Regions from separate parts of the Homo sapiens genome. Here region 2 is linked to region 1. The links are contacts of gene promoters, found by promoter capture Hi-C in human tissues and cell types (Jung and others, 2019). All regions are on one chromosome and are shown on one strand. Each heading gives the region's core, a stretch centred on a gene start or on the middle of the fragment in contact. The rest is flanking DNA. Distances are from core to core; before and after follow the strand shown.

Evidence for each region. Contacts are between HindIII fragments. The study calls those that stand out against the background at their distance.
Region 2: a fragment that was not itself captured here is called in contact with the fragment with the promoter of SPNS3 in region 1 in 1 of the 25 tissues and cell types used here (H1 embryonic stem cells).

Annotation. Positions count from the first base shown.
Region 1 is chr17:4,430,537-4,437,003 of GRCh38, forward strand. SPNS3 (SPNS lysolipid transporter 3, sphingosine-1-phosphate (putative)) reads left to right here and starts at 3,404. Exons shown (of 12, transcript NM_182538.5): 1 at 3,404-3,630. The coding sequence starts at 3,432. RefSeq lists an enhancer at 3,466-4,120. The HindIII fragment of the contact is 23,733 bases long and covers 1-6,467 here.
Region 2 is chr17:4,159,682-4,166,172 of GRCh38, forward strand. ANKFY1 (ankyrin repeat and FYVE domain containing 1) reads right to left here. Exons shown (of 25, transcript NM_001330063.2): 25 at 4,140-6,491. Among named protein-coding and RNA genes, the nearest start is that of CYB5D2, 20 kb to the left of the region's middle. The HindIII fragment of the contact is 4,737 bases long and covers 2,211-6,491 here.

The sequences.
Region 1 (6,467 bases), core at 2,154-4,653:
TTTTTTTTGAGACAGAGTCTTACTCTGTCACCCGGGCTGGAGTGCAGTGGTGCAATGTAGGCTCACTGCAATCTCTGCCACCTGGGTTCAAGTGATTCTCCTGCCTCAGCCTCCCGAGTAGCTGGGATTACAGGCGCCTGCCACCGTGCCTGGATAATTTTTTTGTAGTTTTAGTAGAGACAGGGTTTCACTGTCTTCGCCAGGCTGGTCTTGAACTCCTGACATCGTGATCCACCTGCCTCGGCCTCCCAAAGTGCTGGGATTACAGGTGTGAGCCACTGTACCTGGCCTGTTTTCAGTTCTTTTGGATATATACCTAGGATTGGAATTGCAGGGCCATATGGTAATTTTATGTTTAACCTTTGGAGGAACTGCCAAACTTTGTTCCACTGCGGCTGCCTTACTCCACATTCCCAGCAATGCATGAGGCTTTCAATCTCTCCACCAACATTTGTTATTTCCTCTCTCTCTCTTTTTAAAATTATAGCCGTCTTAGTGGGTACGAACTGATATCTTATGGTGGCTTCAATCTGCCATTTTCCTAATGACTTGTGATGTTGAACATTTTTCTTTCTTTTTTTTTTTTTCCCCCGAGATGAAGTCTCGCTCTGTCACCCAGGCTAGAGTGCAGTGGTGTGATCTCAGCTCACCGCAACCTCTGCCACCCGGGTTCAAGCAGTTCTCCTGCCTCAGCCTCCTAAATAGCTGGGATTACAGACACATGCCACCACGCCCAGCTAATTTTTGTATTTTTAGTAGATATGGAGTTTCACTATGTTGGCCAGGCTGGTCTCGAACTCCCAACCTTGTGATCCACCCACCTGAGCCTCCTAAAGTGCTGGGATTGCAGGCGTGAGCTACTGTGCCCAGCCTGAACATCTTTTTATGTGCTTGTCGGTCACCTGTATATCTTCAGAGAAATGTCTGTTCAACTCCTTGGCCCATTTTTGTCCCCCTGATGTTTTTTTTCTTTAGAGATGGGATCTCACTCTGTTGCCCAAGCTGGAGTACAGTGGCATGATTATAGCTCACTGTGGCCTCAACCTCCCAGGCTTAAGTGATCCTTCCACCTCAGCCTCCAGAGTAGCTGGGACTACAGGTCCATGCCACTATGCCCGGCTCTTCACCCATTTTTAAATTGGTTTGTCATTTTATGCTTTAACTTTTTGTTTAGATATAATTTATAACTTATAGAAAGTTTATCATATAGCGTAAAGAAACTCTTATAATCTTTACCCAGATTCATCTATTATTAATATTTGCCCCATTTGTTTTCTTACTATACATATCTAATATTTTTTCCTGAACCGTTTGAGAATGAGTGGCATAAATCATGGCCCTGTACCTCTAGATACTTCAGATAAGGATATTTACTTATTTACTTACATAACCATAGTTCACAGATGCTGATATGCTATTTCTTCCTGATCCAGTTTTATCAGTTGATCCAGTACAGGAGCGAGGTTGGGATCCTGTACTGCTCTTAATTGTCTTATTGTCTTGTCTCTCTTTTTTTTTTTTTTTTTTTTGAGACGGAGTCTTGTTCTGTCACCCAGGCTAGAGTGCAGTGGCACGATCTTGGCTCACTGCAACCTCTGCCTCCCGGGTTCACATGATTCTCCTGCCTCAGCCTCCTGAGTAGCTGGGACTACAGGTGCACACCACCACACCCAGCTACTTTTTTGTGTATTTTTAGTAGAGACAGGGTTTCACTATGTTGGCCAGACTGGTCTCGAACTCCTGACCTCGTGATCCGCCCGCCTGGGCCTCCCAAAGTGCTGGGATTACAGGCATGAGCCACCGCGCCTGGCCTATCTTGTCTCTTTGTTGCTTTTAATCCAAAACAGTCCCTCAGAATATTTTTTTTTTTTCGAGACAGAGTTTTGCTCTTGTTGCCCAGGCTGGAGTGTAATGGCGTGATCTTGGCTCACCACAACCTGTGCCTCCCGGGTTCAAGCAATTCTCCTGCCTCAGCCTCCCGAGTAGCTGAGATTACAGGCACCTGCCACCATGCCTAGTTAGTTTTGTATTTTTAGTAGAGACGGGGTTTCTCCACATTGGTCAGGCTGATCTTGAACTCCCGACCTCAGGTGATCCACCTGCCTCGGCCTCCCAAAGTGCTGGGATAACAAGCGTGAGCCACCACGCCTAGCTCCCTCAGTCTTTCTTAGTCTTTCATGACTCTGACATTTTTCAATATACAGTCCCTTTAAAGAAATAGTGTTTCTCAATTTGGGCTTGTCTGATGTTTTTTCATTTTAAAAATTAAAAAAAAAATTTTTTTTTTTGAGTTGGGGTCTTGCTTTGTCACCCAGCCTGGAGTGCAGTGGCACGAACATGGCTCACTGCAGCCTCGACTTCCCAGGCTAAGGCGATCCTTCCTACCTCAGCCTCCCAAGTAGCTGGGACTGTGGACGCACACCACTACACCCGGCTATTTTTTTTTAAAATTTTTTATTTTTTTGGTATTTTTGTAGCAATGGGGTTTCACCATGTTGCCCAGGCTGGTCACAAACTTCTGGGCTTGGATGATCCTCCTGTCTTGGCCTCCCAGTGTTAGGATTACAGGTGCGAGCCACCGCGTCTGGCTGATGTCTTCTCATGATGAGATTCCGGTTGTGCCTTCCTGGCTGGAATGCCACATAGATGATGCTGTGACCTGCGAAGACCTTCACATCTGGAGGCACACGACACCCTCCTGCCTCTCACAGGTGATTTATTTTAACCCCTTGGTCAAGATGTCTGATTCCTCTACTGTATAGTTACTCTTTTTCCTTTTGTTACTAATAAGCAATCTATCAAGAGATGCTTCGTGACCGTGCTGACACCCTCCCCCCTCACTGAAGTCTTCCCCCCAGATTTAGCCCCCACTGATGAGTTTTGCACACAGGCTGTCTTCTTGTAGGCAGCCCCCTCTGCTACCTTTGTTTTTCCGGGAAGGACCTTAGATCCTGGGTAGGTGCTCATCCTGCCTGGCAGTCGAGTGCAATGCTGCTGTCCTGGCCAATGCCCAGCCTTCCTCATTTGCCCCGGCTTCAAGGCATTGGTTCACAGTCCCGTACGGGCAGCTAGACCATCTCACAGCAAGCAGCACTCTGGGAGGCTCATCTCATTTCCTGCCCTGGAAGCTTCCCTTCCTCACTGCAGCCACTGAAGCTGCAGGCTAGATCAAGGGGACCACAGAGTTGTCCAGTCCCCAGGGTGGGGGTGCCAGGAGCCCTTGTCCTCCGTAGCAGGTCTCAGAGGCTGACGATGGGGAAATCGCACTGGTGAAGCTGCCGTGGGGTCAGGAGGAACCTGCGATAAGACGCCCAACAGTTAGGGCAGGTGCTTTGAGGTTTGGAGCCTGGGACCCCACAGGAAGTGACTTCGTGCTGAGCTAATGTTGCTTCATCCTGGCGCCAGTCTCAGGCCAAGAGCTGCAGGCTGGCATGGCTGGGGGGATGTCAGCGGAGTGCCCTGAGCCTGGGCCAGGAGGTCTGCAGGGCCAGTCCCCAGGGCCAGGCAGGCAGTGTCCCCCTCCCATCACGCCCACCTCCTGGAGCCTGCCCCCGTGGAGGGCCTACGTGGCTGCCGCCGTCCTCTGCTACATCAACCTCCTGAATTACATGAACTGGTTCATCATTGCAGGTGAGGAGGGGATGGCTACCCTGGGCAGTACCTGCTGCTGTGCCCACCAGCCAGGGGCTGCAGATCCATGGTGGCCTTCCAGCCATCACCCATCTTTCTGCTCCTGGGCCCATCTCTGGTGTTCTCACCTCTAGAGGTGGTTTTCAGCTGTGCTCGAATCGGGGAGGACCAACTGATGTTCCCAATCCAGCCTCAACTAAGAAGGGACACAGGCTGGGCATGGTGGCTCCCGCTTGTAATTCCAGCACTTTGGGAGGCTGAGGCAGGAAGATTGCTTGAGCCCAGGAGTTTGAGACCAACCTGGACAACATAGTGAGACTCTGTCTCTATTTATTTATTTTTTTTTTTGAGACAGAGTCTCGCTCTGTCGCCCAGGCTGGAGTGTAGTGGCGCAATCTCAGCTCACTGCAACCTCTGTCTCCCAGGTTCAAGTGATTCTCCTGCCTCAGCCTCCCGAGTAGCTGGGATTACAGGCGTGCACCACCACATCCGGCTAATTTTTGTATTTTGAGTAGAGGAGGAGTAGGGACGGGGTTTTACCATGCTAGTCAGGCTGGTCTCGAACTCCTGACCTCAGGTGATCCACCCGCCTCGGCCTCCCAAAGTGCTGGGATTACAGGCATGAGCCACCGTGCCCGGCCTTTTTTTTTTTTCTTGAGACAGAGTCTCAATCTGTTGCCCAGGCTGGAGTGCAGTGGCGCGATCTCGGCTCACTGCAACTTCTGCCTCCCAGGTTCAAGCGATTCCTATCTCAGCCTCCCGAGTAGCTGGGACTACAGGCGCATACCACCATGCCAGGCTAGTTTTTGTATTTTTAGTAGAGACGGGGTTTTGCCGTGTATGCCAGGCTGTCTCGAACTCCAGACCTCAGGTGATCCGCCTGCCTCGGCCTCCCAAAGTGTTGGGATTATAGGCATGAGCCCCTGCGCCCAGCCGAAACTCTGTCTCTATTTAAAAAATTAAAAATATTTTAGGGCTGGGTGCGGTGGCTCAGGCCTGTAATCCCAGCACTGTGGGAGGCCAAGGTGGGCGGATCACTTGAAGTGAGGACTTTGTGACCAGCCTGGGCAACATGGTGAAACCCCGTCTCTACTAAAACTACAAAAATTAGCCGAGCATGGTAGCGGGCACCTGTAATCTCAGCTACTGGGGAGGCTGAGGCAGAGAATTGCTTGAACCTGGGAGGTGGATGTTGCAGTGAGCCGAGATCCCACCATTGAGCCAAGATCCCACCATTGCACTCCAGTCTGGGCGACAGAGCAAGGCTCTGTCTCAAAAAAAAAAAAATAAAAAATAAAAAATAAATAAATAAATAAATATTTTTTAAAAATTAAGGGAGGGCACAGTGGGGGTGGGGCCAGAGACATAATGAGGGGTGGGTGGGTGAGGACAGCAGGCAGGACTTCCAGGCAGAGGCCCCCAGGTTCTAGGTGGAGGACAGGGTAGCCTGGGCCAGACAAGAATAGCTCCTGCTGGCTGTGTTTCTAGGACAACAGGCTGCTCGCAAACCTCACACGTCCTGCCTTCCTTCTTGCAGGCTTCAGGGCTCAACCTGCTCTGTCTTCTGTCACTCATTCACTAACTCACTCACTCATTCATTCATTCAAGACTGATCAGGGGCCAGGCGTGGTGGCTCACGCCTGTAATCCCAGCTACTCGGGAGGCTGAGGCAGGACAGTCGCTTGAACCCGGGAGGCGGAGGTTGCGGTGAGCTGAGATCGTGCCACTGCACTCCAGCCTGGGCGACAGAGCGAGACTCCGTCTCAAACAAAGACAACAACAATAACAACAGCTGATTGAGGCTCCACTTGCTCTTCTCTTCTTGTCATTCATTCATTCAAGACCGGCTGAGCACTAACTGTGGGCAGGACCCCCTGCTGGCTGCTGTGGACCCAGGGAGGAAATCGGACTTGGAGTTCCTGAACTCAGGAATGACCATCTCATGGGGCAGAGATAGAGGCTGGTTGATGGCAGTCCTGCGAGGCGGAGAGGTGCGGCCAGACAAGGGGGAGGCACAGGCCGGGCTGGGAGCTCAGGAGGGTGCCTGCAGCTGCCAGGCATCTCTGAGACCTGGGCATCGATCTGTCAGTTACCAGCTCAGCATGCCAGAGAGTGGCTATGGAATCATGAAACTCTAGGGGCTGCAGAGCCATCCCCAGACCTGGTCATCGTCTTTGAGGAGCTCAGAGGTCAGGAGCTTCTCCTCACATGAGGTCAGGAGTTCGAGACCAGCCTGGGTAACATAGAAAAACCTTGTCTCTACAAAAAATTTAAAAAATTAGCCAGGGACAGTGATGTCTTCAGCCTCTCGGGAGGCTGAAGCAGGAGGATTGCTTGAGGCTGAAGCAGGAGGATTGCTTGAGGCTGAAGCGGGAGGATTGCTTGAGGCTGCGGTGAGCCCTCTAGCCTGAGTGACAGAGCAAGATCTTATCTAAACCCCTAAAGACAAAAAGCCAAAACAAAGCAAAACAAAACACATGAAACAAAAAACCCCAAAGGGGTGTATGGGGTGAGAACAGAGCTTCTTGGGTGCCAGACTGGGAGCTTGGACTTTCTGCCTTGGGCAATGGGGAGCCATATAATTGGATTTGAGGCCCTGATGGAGGCAAAATGAGCCAGGGAGTCAGTTCAGAGGCTGCTGTAGTGGATCAGGCCAAAGCTGAGGAGGCCTGAGTTGGAGTGTGGGCCAAGGGCACGCAAAGGCGAGAAGGGGCAAGAGGTGGATGGGAGCCAGGAATCACCAGTGTGGAGCTCTCTGAACCCACGAGCCTGGGGACCCGCTATCTCTGCCGCTAGCCCTGGAGGTCCCTGGCTGGGCCCTAAGACCCTGAGTCTTG
Region 2 (6,491 bases), core at 3,329-5,828, 270 kb before region 1:
TCATATCACAGTGGGCTCTTACCATGAACTTCCTATCAACCTCTTGCACTGGACCTCAGACACTCTGAGGACAGAGCCCCAGTGTGATTCAGCTCCATACCCCTATATCCACATGACTCAGCTCCGTACCCCTATATCCACGACTCAGCTCCATATCCCTATATCCACAACTCAGCTCCGTACCCCTATATTCACATGACTCAGCTCCGTACCCCTATATCCACATGACTCAGCTATGTACCCCTATATCCACATGACTGAGCTCTGTACCCCTATAATCCACGACTGTCCGTACCCCTATATCCACATGACTCAGCGCCGTACCCCTATATCCACATGACTCAGCGCCGTACCCCTATATCCACATGACTCAGCTCTGTACCCCTATAATCCACATGACTCAGCGCCGTACCCCTATATCCACGACTCAGCTCCGTACCCCTATATCCACATGACTCAGCTCCGTACCCCTATAATCCACATGACTCAGCTCCGTACCCCTATATCCACGACCCAGCTCCGTACCCCTATAATCCACATGACTCAGCTCCGTACCCCTGTATCCACATGACTCAGCGCCGTACCCCTGTATCCACGACTCGGCTCCATACCCCGATATCCACGACTCGGCTCTGTGCCCCTATATCCACAACTCAGCGCTGTACCCCTACATTCACGCAACTCAGCTCCGTACCCCTATAATCCACTTTACTCAGTGCCGTACCCCTATAATCCACATTACTCAGCGCTGTACCCCTATATCTACATGACTCAGAGCCTTACCCCATATCCATGTGACTCAGCTCCTCACCCCTATATCCACGTGACTCAGCACCATGCCCCTATAATCCACTTTACTCAGCGCTGTACCCCTATATCCACCGCACCTAGCGTGTGGGAAGTTCGTGCAGAGTTGTTTCTTTTTTTGAGACAGGGTCTTACTCTGTTGCCCAGGCTGGAGTGCAGTGGCGTGATCATAGCTCACTGCAGCCTTGACCTCCCGGGCTCAAAAAGATTCTGCCACTTCAGCCTCCCGAGTAGCTGGGATGATGGGCACGTACCAGCATGCCCGGCTAGTTTTTTATTTTTGTAGAGATGGGGTTTTACCTTGTTGCCCAGCCTGGTCTCCAACTCCTGGGCTCAAGCAATCTGCCCACCTCGGCCTCCCAAAGTGCTGGGATTACAGGCGTGAGCCACCGCACTTTTTGGAGATAAGGCAATAAAGGCACATAGAACTTAAGTCACTGAGCATGGACCTGAGCCTAGAACTCAAAGCTCTGGATGCCTGATTCGGTGCCATTTTCACTCCTCCATATTTCTGTATGTCTCTGCCCTCCCTGGGGCAGGACCAGGAGCAGACAGAAAGAAGAGCTGAAATTAGGATTTTCTTCTGAGTTCTAGGCAGTCCCTGAGCTCAGTGCTGAGACTTCTCTATTAACCAGAAACAGCCCCCAACTCCATGCTAACTGGAAACTAGTTACTGCCCATGATTTAGTCCTCCTTAGTCATTCAGCAAATAACTTACCAAGAACCTACTATGTGCCAGGCATCACGTTAGGGTTGGGTGGTCGAGGAAGCAAGGCTTCCGACCTCAGGGGGCTTATAGTATGGTGGAATAAACCCAGTAGAGCAGCCAGAGGCTGTCCTTGCGGTAGGAATGCAGGGAGAGTGTGAGGGCCAGGTCCCAAGATGTTCTGATCCTTCAAAAAACAAACAAACAAAAAGGAGCATTAGTCATTCCAGCCAGCTGCGGGCTCTGGCCGTGCCTAGAGGGTACCTGATCTCTGACTGATGCAAGAGCCCTGCGTGCAGGCTCCAGGACAGACTTGGCTGGCTTCAGCAGCCTGCTCTGTTCCTTGCTCAGTTGAGAATTCATTTCCTTTTTGATACTTACCTTATGGTACTTACCTTCCTACTTAATCTGGTAACACATCTCTCATGTCAGGGCAAAGGATTCAGCAAAGAATTAGGTTCAGCAAGAGTAGGTTGTCATTTTAATGGCCTGAAGGGCTCAGCCATGAGAAGCTGGTAATTACTGGAGAAATGCCTGGCCTTTCCCTCTCCAGTACAGGTGGCCCTGGGCAAAACCATGGGGGAGGAAGGGCAAGGCCCTGATGGAAGCCACAGATAAGCTCAGCTTAGGCTGAGCATGCAGTTAGACTTGCTGGCAGAAGGAAGGGAAGGAGAAAACATACATATTGGGCAACTATGCTGGGCCAGGCCTTGTTCTCATTTAATCTCTATGCCTGCCTTGAGAAGTTCCCATTTTATGGCCCAGAAAAGGGGCATAAATATCTCCCCACCTCTTCTAATAGTTACATCAACCGTCGGGTGACAGAGCTGGGCTTTGTGATGCGAGTCTGATCTCTGCCACACCAGTGAGCACAGTGTCAAGGCAAAGCCTTTGCAGCTGCACTCCACTCCAACATTGTGAAGGAGGCCGGGCGCTTATAATCCCAGCACTTTGGGAGCCCAAGGTGGGCGGATCTCTTGAAGCCAGGAGTTCGATGGAGGCCAGCCCGGCCAACATGGTGAAACCCCATCTCTACTAAAATACAAAAATTAGCTGGGTGTGGTGGTACGCATCTGCAGTCCTAGCTACTGGGGAGGTGGAGGCTGCAGTGAGCCGAGATCACACCACTGCACTCCAGCCTGGGCGACAGAGAGAGACTCTCCCAAAACAAACAAACAAAACCCAAAAATAAAGAAGTCATCTTGAAAGAAGTTTCAACATTTGCCTTTTCATTCTGAGATTACAGTTTTCTATAAACATCTAAGAGTGAAGAGTCTGACGTTTTTTGGTCACAGCTGAGCCACTGCGTGACCCCCGCCCCGCCCCACACTCACTTTGCTCTAGGCAAAGCTGTACTCTGAAAGCTGGCCCCAATGGGGAGGTTAGGACTGTGCCTGCTCAGAAGTCTGTGGGTGCCTCAGAGAAGGGCAACAACCCTAGGCTGGACCCTAGCCTTGAGAGTACTTCCTACTGCCAGAGCCCCCAGATTTCTTCCGGTGGCAGCAGATACTGCCAGAAGAGCCTGCGGTGCACACACCAGAATCCGGGTACTTGGATGAGAAGGACACATTACTGATCACCTTCCTCCAGGCAACCCTGTCAGTTAAGGACTACAGTCCCGCCCCCATTATGTAGATAGGGAAACAGAGGCAAAGAAGTTAGGAAACTCGCCCAGAACTCTCAGCTCATGAATAAAAAAGCAGAACTAAAACCCAGTGCTCTCCCTGGCTGGGCAAACGTGTGGAAGTTGATGTGCCTGGTTACTGTTTGTGCTTCGCTTATCATAACCAGTGACAGCGTGGTTAGCACTGTTCGCCTCAAGGGCAGCTGTGAGGATTACTTGGGATTGTCCTGTGGAAACACTTCACATGCATATTAACTAGGAGAAAAGCCACTGGAGAATGAGCTTTATGAGCTCTATCAATCACCACAGCTAGTCTGACCTAGGGGTAAGCAAAATGGAAGACAGGAAAAAGGGAATACATTTGCTCAGGACAGCGTGAGGGCCACGTGAGCTGCTTGATTGGTAGTGATTTGTACAGGGGCTTTATGGATCACTAGGTTTTAATTTGCAAGGCCTGAAACTGTCCTTAGCATTCTCTGAAACCCACAGTGCCAGTCGCCCTTCACGCCTCGGCCAGCAGAAAGCTCCTCATGAGTGGATCCTCTTGAGAACTTCAGAGGGGTCAGGTGACGGTGACTGAGACTGCCTCAGTGATCACGCTCGGTGCTATGAGCTGAAATCTGGGCCAAGGGCACAGTAAGTTCAGGCAGCTAGTATGTTTAAAATAACTACTTTTCGGGAGCTAAGCCATGAGGACGTAAAGGCATTAAGAATGATACAGTGGACTTTGGGGGCTCAGGGGAAAGGGTTGGGGTGAGGGATAAAAGGGTCCAGTGTACACTGCTTGGGTGATGGGTGCCCCAAAATCCTGGAAATCACCGCTAAAGAACCTCACGTAACCAAACACCACCTGAACCCCAAAAACCTACTGAAACTTTTAAAAATTAAAAATACATACATAAAATAGCTACTTTTACTGCTGTCAACAGCATGTTCCTGAAAAATGTTGGAATTCAAACTTTCTGGAGGGCAGCTGGTCAAGAAACTTATTCACGTCAGGAGTTTTCTAAAATTTGTTTTTAATGCTTATTGGTACTTCTGCATTAGAAGTAACTACAAATGTCTTATTAAAGTTTCCACTTTAAATGCACAATTTTACTTCATTTTATTATAAGGAATTGTTACAGAAAATGCAAATATCAGTATTTGAAAAATACATTCCATTACACAGACTCCAAAGAAACAATGCTGATAAGCGCCGTGGTCCTCTATGATACCATCACCCCACACTGAGCACCACCCCGAAGGGGCTGGAAGCCAGGTGATCCACCCAAATGTGTGCCTGCAGTTTCTGCCCAGCTACTGCCCCTCCTCTGGGATCACACAGGGATGTCGTAACAGCCAACTCCACACATCTGCCAAAAAAGAGCAAGTCATCAAGGCGAGCAGTCTCGACTCAAGACTCCCTAGCTGCAGAAAACCAATGTTGTCAGTTGTAACAGGTTAATATATTATTTATGCCACACAAAAAAGGAATAGTACAGGCAATGATCTTCCAAAGAAAGTCTTTAAGGCATCTGTAACTTCTGGGAATTTCAGGGTTTTTATCTTGCCAGTCAGCTCTCACTAAAGTACTTCCACAGAGTGAGAAGGTGGCTCCCAAGTCCCTTTGGTGAGTTGGTGCCACCTGCTTCCTCTGCCACCAGGCTGGGGTGGGGAGCTTTGGTGCTTCAGGTAGTTCTTCTGGGACTTGTCCCAAGGGAAGCAAGTGTCTGTCATGGAAACATTACCCTTCCTTGTTCCTGCTACTGTCACCTGGGAAGTTAGCGTTAGCTTGCCTTTCAGGGTGAAGCATTACATAGTTCAAAAGTGTTCTTTTTCTCCAGATAAAAGAAACCTAGATGGAGGTCAAGCTCTCCCCTTTCCCAAGACGTTCCCTCCACTCCGTGCCCGTGGAGAAGATTAGTGCAGAAACGGTTCAATATGGCAGGTGTGGGACATGAGCGGGGAGGAGTGGAGAAACCACACACACACTGAGATCCACACAGGGACCCATTCAGGGACAAGAGTGAGGACACAGAACGGGGTGGTCAGAAATGACTCGGGGCTCTGAGGTAGAGGACTAAAGGTCACGTAGACCCCACTCCTTGGAGAGAACGTGGCAGGTGAACTGAGCAATCGAATCCAGCCTCAACTAAATTGGTAATTGGGGTTGACCGTGCACAGGCCCAAAACTCCAAATGGAACACATGTTCTAACACATCGTTCAGTGAGACACCACGAAAAAGATGACTGAAAGTTCAAAAGTCCTAAGTGTAGGCACTTAAGTTTATGGGAAATTTCGGTGTTAGAGGATCATAGCAAATTAGTTTAAGCCATTCGATTTATATATAGCACATGGTCCGTACCTTTGTTTTAAAAACAACGACAACAAAAGACTGTTAGGAATACACTGGATAATAAATCTGGCGATGAGCAAAGGGCAGTTGAGAGCACATTCAGCATAACAATGTTGACTGTTGCAGCAAATTATGTTTCAGTAAAGTTTACTTTTCCTGCTCTACTCATTCAGAAGTGGCAACTTTCTGAATGAATTTAAGTTTTTGCTACTAGTACTTAAGCTACTGATGAAAACTTACAACAGCTAGGCAGGTTTGTACGCAAGTGTTGACAGCAGGGAGAGCACGGGAAGGGCTGGAAGCATGCCTAGTCCCAGCCAGGGCAGGGCATGTTGGAGTCAGCTCCCACTCAAGCAGCCTGCTGAGTGCAGCCCAGCGAGCGTCCGCGTGGTCGGGGGGCTTCCTAAGTCTGTGGAAAGAGGCTTTTCCTATATCCACATGGATGCGCCCTGAAGCCAATGGAAAACAGGACTCAATGTTCTCCCAGTCCATAGCTGGTCAGTACCATTGCTATCCCTGGACTCAGGCTTAGAAGCAAGTTTGAATCAACATATTTGAAACATGATCTTAAGATTCTGAGTGCAATGACAGGCAAGATTGTTATTGAAATTGGTATGGTAGGGCATGGGCAGAACAATCGGCCTCACCCTTGACTCATCTCCCACATTCCTTTTAAAGAACAGGTATCCATGTACCAACCACTTCAATTCATATCCGAATCATGATTCTCTTACTTTCTAACTTAGGTAACCAAGCTACCTAAGCCCTGCCTGCTTCCTTATGGCCCTTTCCAGGTAATAGAAAATGGAAACTGACCACATGCCTCACATGGCCAAATGTTTGCCAAGACTAGCAGAGTTTTTCTTTTAAACATTCTGTATGAAATATGTCAGACTGGGGGACGGGGGATCTCTTCTAATTCATTGTTTTTCTTTTAAACATTGTGCACAAGCTTATATTCACATAGAAAGCATATACATCTTATAAATCACAGACTTTTTTTTAAGTAGTACTC